Linked DNA regions of Homo sapiens: region 2 is linked to region 1. The links are contacts of gene promoters, found by promoter capture Hi-C in human tissues and cell types (Jung and others, 2019). All regions are on one chromosome and are shown on one strand. The core of a region is centred on a gene start or on the middle of the fragment in contact, and the rest is flanking DNA. Distances in the headings are between cores, read along the strand shown. Region 1 holds the start of NKX2-4 (NK2 homeobox 4). Region 2 overlaps PAX1 (paired box 1).

Evidence for each region. Contacts are between HindIII fragments. The study calls those that stand out against the background at their distance.
Region 2: a contact is called between a fragment that was not itself captured here and the fragment with the promoter of NKX2-4 in region 1, in 1 of the 25 tissues and cell types used here (mesendoderm cells).

Annotation. Positions count from the first base shown.
Region 1 is chr20:21,395,515-21,399,299 of GRCh38, forward strand. It overlaps NKX2-4 (NK2 homeobox 4), which reads right to left and starts at 2,012. Exons shown (of 2, transcript NM_033176.2): 1 at 1,444-2,012; 2 at 1-1,019. The coding sequence starts at 1,885. The coding sequence ends at 397. LOC105372558 (a long non-coding RNA gene) reads left to right here and starts at 2,420. Exons shown (of 4, transcript XR_001754528.1): 1 at 2,420-3,062; 2 at 3,749-3,785. The HindIII fragment of the contact is 9,137 bases long and covers 1-3,785 here.
Region 2 is chr20:21,708,616-21,712,400 of GRCh38, forward strand. It overlaps PAX1 (paired box 1), which reads left to right. Exons shown (of 5, transcript NM_001257096.2): 3 at 1-85; 4 at 607-829. Among named protein-coding and RNA genes, the nearest start is that of PAX1, 4.8 kb to the left of the region's middle. The HindIII fragment of the contact is 4,854 bases long and covers 1-3,785 here.

The DNA.
Region 1 (3,785 bases), core at 762-3,261:
ATCTCCCAAGATAAATTCCACTTCAAAAAGGACTGATTGTTAAAGCTGGGTTGATTTTTATAGTTACAAACGCCAACAAAGTTTCCAACTTTGAGAGCTGTAGTTAAGAATGCCGTGTGAACTTCTCCACCTTTTCGCGTCATTTAAGAACTTCTAGGAGGAGAAAATCACCACCTCAAAGCCTCGTGGCATAATGTTACACTACTCGGTTTCCGGGCTGTCGCTGTCCCCCGCCCCCAGCAAGAGGTTCACAGCCTGCTCCTCTCTGAGACCGGTTCGTTTTGAATCGCAGTTTACACGCGCGAGTCGGTTTTCGCATGCCTCCCCCATCCGTTCTAGCAGTTTCTTGCAGACCCTTCGGGTGCACCAGGACCTAGCCCCGGGGCGCCCTCGCTGTCACCACGTCCTGCCATAGAGCAGGTTGGCGCCCAGGACGCCGCCGCTGTACTCCCCGGCGGCCGCGTCCAGGGCCGCCAGGCCGCCCCCCGGGCCGTGCAGCGCGGGTGGGCTGGGCGACAGCTCCTCCAGCTCAGGTGCTGGCGTCGGGGCCGGCGGCTGCGGACCGGCCTGGCCGGGGGTGGGCGTGCTGGCGCCGTTCTGGCACGGCTTGCCGTCCTTGACCAGCACAGGCACCGCCACGCGGCGCGGGGACGGCGGCGGAGGCGGCGGCGGGCCCAGGCCGCCCTCCTGCTGCAGCTGCTGCGCCGCCTTGTCCTTGGCCTGCCGTTTCATCTTGTACCGGTGGTTCTGGAACCAGATCTTGACCTGCGTGGGCGTCAGGTGGATCATGCTGGCCAGGTGCTCGCGCTCGGGCGCCGACAGGTACTTCTGCTGCTTGAAGCGCCGCTCCAGCTCGTAGACCTGCGCCTGCGAGAAGAGCACGCGGCGCTTCCTTCGCGGAGCGGCTGCCGCCGCCGCCGCGTGCAGCGGGCCCAGCGACTTGGCGGCGTCCGCGATGCCGGTCAGCGACCCCATGCCGGCCACATTCACGCCCGCCGACGGCCCCATGAACCTGGAGACTGGGGAAGAGTCCCAAGGGGGAAGGCGAGTGAGCTCCAGGCCCGCCGGGAGCCGGTCCAGCCGCCGCTCTCTTCACGCCGCGGCCGCGACGCCGCCGGGCCCTCGCTGAATCCCAAGACCCCCTGACCGCCGCGGCCTCCGGCCCCAGCACGCCCCGCGCGCCCTCGGCGGGTCCCAGAGCACCACGCCCTCAACGGGTCCCAGGACGCCGCGCGCGTTCCCGGTCAGGTCCCAGGACCCCCCGCGCGCCCAGGGTCCCCAGAAACCCCGCGCGTCCCGGGCCGCGTCCCAGGACGCCCCGCGCGCCCGCTCGGCCCCAGGACCTCCTAAGCCGCGCGCACCCCGTCCCGCGCCCCCGCGCCCCTCGGCTGTGGCGGGAAACGCCTGAGCCGCCCGCAGCCCCGCGCTCCTGGCCCCTCTCACTTGACGAGTAGCGTGGGTCCGGGTTGGCGCCGTACCAGCCGGTGGCCGCGCCGCCCCGCATGCCGTCCGTGTAGGCGGGCAGCTCGCCCATGTTGCCCAGGCCGCCGTTGCAGTAGCTGCCCATGGCGCCGTGCGGGAACTGCGAGACGCCGGGCGGCATGTGGTAGGTGGCGGCCGCCGCCGCCGCAGCTGCTGCCGCCGCCGCCGCGGCCGCCGCGTTGTGACCCGCCATGGCGTGAGAAGGCTGCATGCCCGCCACGGTCGCCGCCTGCGAGGAGGGCCCAGGTGGCGGCGCGCGGTAGGCGGCCGCGGCCCCCAGGGGCGCCCCCAGGCCGGGTGGCGCGCCGTCCATGGCGCCGCTGAACTTCTTGTAGGTCTCCTCGATGGGGCTCAGGATGTCGGACACGGAGAAGGGCGTCGTGTGCTTTGGGCTCAACGACATGGCTCGGCGGGCAGCCAGGTAGGGGGGCCTGGGGCGCGCGCCGGCAGGACGCGGCGGCCGCTCGTCGCCGCCACCTCGGCCGCGGCAGCTGAGCCTGTGACGAGGAGTCGGCGGCTCGGCGAGCCCCCCGGGCTGCGGGATCTGGGGTTTATTTTAGTCCGGCGCCAGGTTTACGACAGACTCGGGGGGCGGAGCAACATCCCAAACGAGCAAACAATGGTCATTGACATCTTTTTCTCTCGCCCCCCCAACCCCCGCCCCATAATGGAGGCAAAAAAAGGTAAAAGGGGCAGTTGGGTGTTTCTTGGAAAGATCACTCCCCGTTGCTTTTCCCATCTTTGCTTTTCCCATCCTTTGCTTTTCCCATCCTTCGCTCCTCCATCCGCGGCCGTTACCCCAGCCCTCGAGCACCAGAAATAGAAACTCGGAGGCTGGCGTCGAGGCTAGACATGGACTCCGCGCCTGGCCCCTTCCAGATCCCAGTTTTCTAAAGTGACTTCGCACCAAAGTCCGGTATAATTGCGGAATGGGGAACGTGCTGCTAAGTTTGGGGGGAGGGTGTTGCGGGGGCTTGCTTCGTCCTCTCCAGTTATCAGCCCCTCATTCGCTCCATCACCTAAAGTGTTAAAAAAAAAAAAAAAGGCTCTTGGGTCCCACCGTAAGAGCGCATAAAGAGAGGAGGTACAATGACCGTCCTTTGCCATTGTAGGGCTCCCTAATTTATGCGTTTTTAGACCCTTAAGCATCATTTTGTGGGCAACCAAACGGGCACTTCCAAATTAGCTCAAAGTATCCAAGCCCAGAGAAGAGAGAAAACACACATACACTGATAAATACGCAGATGCTAACTTGTAAGTATTCTGTTTTTCCTCTGTGGGGATGGAAATTGAACAAGGGAAAGAGGGGGAACATTTTTATTTCCTAAAATGTTTCCTACTGAGTTTGCACTTGTAAAGTTTTTTCTGCTTTCTTTCCCTTTGTGTGTGTTCTTACTCTCTTTCTCTCAGTAAATATCTCTGACTTAAGTTTATTCTCCCATCACTACCGTGATCAAAAAGAAGAGAAAGACAAAATATCAAAACTTCCAAATATTTCTAGTTGTTCGCAACGGGTCTTTTTGTTGTTGTTGGAAAAATATAACCTGTTCAAGCGATATGAAAATGGATGCAGAAATCAGGTGAAAATTGTAGTTTCTTTGGAAAAATACAAAACCATAGATAAACAGATTTTTAAAACTTTGTCATCCTTTGACTTGCAGTTTTACCCGAATACTTAGACATTATGAACTCTCTACTAAATACTGAACAAGACAAAGCATAAGACAAAAGCAGTGTGCAAAGCATATTGATTAAATTTTGAAAACAATCTTGCAGCAATAATAATGATAACGAGAAAACAAAGATAACACTTTTAAGTTTTCCTGGAAACTGGAGCAGGAGAAAGAAAAACAAGGAGAGTGCTTTCTTAAGCAATATTTTGTTTTATTTTTTTTCCAGAAAAGGGTGTGTGGAATCGATTTAAGTTTAACCTGACAGTACATGTCTTGAAGGCAAGAACAGTGTTACATATTCCTTTTTCTGTTTGGTTTTAGCCCTTTGGTGGAAATGTTCTCCATGGTTTTGTTCTTAGGATTTTAATAATTGTTTTGTTCAACTCAGTATGGTTTTGCAAAGAATCTGCCCTTTCTAGGGGGGAAAAAGCCATAGGTCACCTGTGGGAAGGAAGTGACAGACGAATGTTAAGAGTAATGTTTTAATATACTGTAAAAATAAAATGCAAGGTTACAGGAATTGTTTACAAACATCAGTATTGACTTAGCAAGATTAATATTGCTACAGTTTTAACACGATGCTACTTTTACAGGTCTTTTATGAACTTGAAACACATCGGCTAGGTCTTC
Region 2 (3,785 bases), core at 357-2,856, 310 kb after region 1:
CGTGAACCGCACGGCCTTCCCCGCCACCCCCGCAGTGAATGGGCTAGAGAAACCTGCCTTAGAGGCAGACATTAAATACACTCAGGTAACCAGGAGGCACGTGAGGCCGTGACCTTAAGTAGGGAAGCAGAAGGTTTGGGCAAGTGGGGAAAAAGAGAGAGAAAGAAAAGAAAAAATTTCCAGGCAGAGAGATGGTTGTATCTGGCAGCCGGCTAGCAAGCGTCCTTTCTGTCCTTTCCTCAAGCGTACTAGTTTGGGAGAGTCTGACTTTAGAGGGGTTGACTTGCCTTTGCCAAGATAGCTTAGCTAAAAAAAGCTGGAACTCCAGATGACGAATCCACAGTCAAGGGCCTTCTTTCTCTAAATCCCGATATGAATACCATGACCCCTTCACATCGTTATTTGTAACAGTTTGAGTGAATTCTTAGAAATCACTTTGCCAAAGAGTCCTGACTAGGAAATTTAGAGGCCAGGCCTCGCATGGGGATAATGGATGGGCACAGGACGTGGGGGAGCGATAATGGACGAAAACCCCCGTCTCAGTGATGGCGTGGGCTAGAGAAGGCAGGATTTTCTGCTGCTGACGGTCCCTCTCTATCCCCACAGTCGGCCTCCACCCTCTCTGCCGTGGGCGGCTTTCTCCCCGCCTGCGCCTACCCGGCCTCCAACCAGCACGGCGTGTACAGCGCCCCGGGCGGCGGCTACCTCGCCCCGGGCCCGCCGTGGCCGCCTGCGCAAGGTCCTCCTCTGGCGCCCCCCGGGGCCGGCGTAGCTGTGCATGGCGGGGAACTCGCGGCAGCAATGACCTTCAAGCATCCCAGCCGAGAAGGTGAGGAGCGCAGGGAGTGGGGCGGGTGGATGCTGGAAGGGTTAGGAAGGGTACTGGGGAGCGGGTGTGAGCCTGGGAAAAGGGAGAGCGGGTGGGGAAGAGGTGGGTCCTGGGCATGAACCCTTCTTCTGGGTTAACCTTTGAGCATGTAGCTTCTTGGAGCAGATTAGTTCTGACAGGTGTCCCTATAAAGGTACCCGAGGTTGAGAGAGACTGGCCCCAAGACTGTCCCCTCCACTTATGATGGGAGAGGTGAAAGGAGGTCCTTCTGGCACACAGGACGCGTGGGTTTGGATCCGGTTCTGGCACCTTCGACCAAGTTCCTGCTTCTTTCTGGGTTTCTGTTTCTCCATCCAGAGACACGTCTAGCAGGCACCCTCCAGGCTCACCTTTCTGTAGACCTGTTCTGGCACCTAAGCCCTTTAGGTGGGGTTGGACTTGCTAGTGGCACCTAACCTCCATCCCCAGACCCTTCCCGTCTCTGCCCCACTGCCCATCTGTTTTTTCCAGGTTCCTTAGAGAGAAAAAAAGGCGTTTGGATTCTTTTTCTTAAATACACACTGTGGGAAAGTAGAGGCCATGTGAATCAGTGTCCTTTACTCCAGGCTCAGGAGCTTTCTGTGGTTGTGGGTGGTGGTGGTGGTGGGCGGGTGGGGGGGTTCTCTCTTTCTGTGGAAAATGTGCCTGGGAGTCTTGCCTCCTTTTCCGCTTCCTCCTTCTCTTCCTTTTCCATAAGTCCACTTCCTGAAAAGTCGAGGAACAGATTTTAGGTATTTCACTGACAGTCAGCAGTGTGAGGGGGATCTTCTCACACAACCAGGAGGGTTCCAGTTTTTCCTTTAACTTGGGAAAAGCTCACCAGCCCTTGAGTCCTCATTTTCTTTGTTGTTAAAAGGAATGGCTTGATTTGCTAAGTTCAAACTTGCCAGTGCTTAGGTTCTGAGCACCAGAAATTTGCAACTTCAACCAACCTGGGAAAGGAAAGGGTCACCCCAGGTCGTCCCAGCCCCAGCAGAGAAAGAGACAAGGCACAAACCTGGGGGACAGCGTGGAGTTCCCAGATTATAAAAGGATTTTTACTAGCTGCTTTGCCTCCACCTGTCCAGGGCTGGAAGCGAGGTGGATGTAGTGGCAGGTGGCAGTGGGCAGGCAGGGGACAGGAGGGCCATCCTCCTTGGTGCTGCCCAGGCAAAAAGTGCTATTTCCAAGTAGTCTTGATAAGATAGGAGGGCATGCCCTGGGGAGTGGGGGTGGGGTGGGGGGCAGGAAGGAAATAAAGATGCCATCCACAACAGTGAAATGAAGGGAGAAAAATACTTTTTCTATTTCTACCTTTCCTAGAGCACAGACATCCTGGGATATTAGGATAATGTTCACTTGCCTAGTTACAGACAAATCCAAATAAGGAAAATTTATAAAAATTGGGATTTAGAGCTCTTTTAAACTTTAAGTTTAATTTAAATAGGATACTATCATTTACTCATTTATAGAAAAATCCAAGTGAAGGAAATGTTAAAAGTTGAGAGTAAGAACTCCTTTAAGCTTTATGTTTAAGGATAGTTAAGGGGTCGCAGATGAGCGCTTCACTCATCCTCAGCCTCCAATCAACCTGTTTTCTCAACAACTGAGGTTATCTGTCGAAATCGAAATCAAAATAAAATTTACCACATTACACAAATCACTTAAATAAGCAGGTTCTTTTGAATTAAAAATGTATAACCACAGATTTGAAATATTTCACTGGGTTCATCTTAAGGAGAAGGAAGACTTAGAAAAAAGACCCACAGTCTTCAGAGGAATGCATTTGTTTTCAATAGAGCCACTTTGCCCTGGAGGCATTTTAAGCTCTACATTAGACACAAATTATAAAGTGCAGATAATAAGCCAAAGGTAACACACACAGTTCCTAATTCTAAACTACCTGTCTTAATTTGTGGTGGAAGTTGCGGGGAAGCTGATTTTAACATTAAGCCTCACTGGTGATTGATTTTCTTTAGAAGACACTTTCCTTTTCAGAAATACAGGGTCATTGAATGGTGCTGGCATAAGTCCCTTTTACCATTATATCAGTTTCCTATTATGTAATATCCCACCTGTTTTTAAAAGCTACAGCAATAATTTGTTACTCTAGTTATTAAATTAATAATTTAATTTTGTGGTCCTCCAACTTCTTTAAAGGTTCTAATAAAAGATAATCAGATAACTTGGGGACACCATTAGCAATGATTTCTCAAGCTGGCATGCAACTGTTTGTGTTCGAACAGGAATGTAGAAATAATCATTCATTATCTATCTATATTCATAGCCTGAGAATTACATACATGCTTGGGTTATGGATTTTTACTCCTTACTGGTAGAACAGCTGACTTCAAAGATCTATTCCCTCAACACAACTGGTCTTTGGAAAGACAGAAAAATAATAAGAATCACTGCCTTTTATTTTCTGATCAGTTCTTAAGAAATTAATATCTTCAAAGAAACCTGTCCCAGAGGACAATTTACTATCAGCAATTGTTCAATTCATAAGAATAGTGAGAATAGTATTTAGTGAACTCCTTTTCAGTAAGAAAAAATTCTTCTGTGTAATGAAAAGCAATTTAATACAATAAATGCTCAGTAAAAGCAAATACCTTTGATCACCTAACACATACACACCACACACGCACAGTGCAATATATATCAATATGTCCTCCAAATTAGTGCAAATGAACAGCTTAACAGTTACCCTAAGTGAAACTTAATCAAATGTCAAATCGAAAATTTAGCATTTAATTAGATATTAATTGATTAATTGTGTTATTTAATACTATAATTCATTTTTTTCTTATTTTTTAAAAAGGTAGTGAGTCTGGGTTTCCTATTATGTAGGTAAAAAGCATGATTTACATTTCCCATCCCCTGAAAGGAAACTTTAATTTTTGGGAATTGAGAAGAATAGAAAAAGTTTCGCTTAATC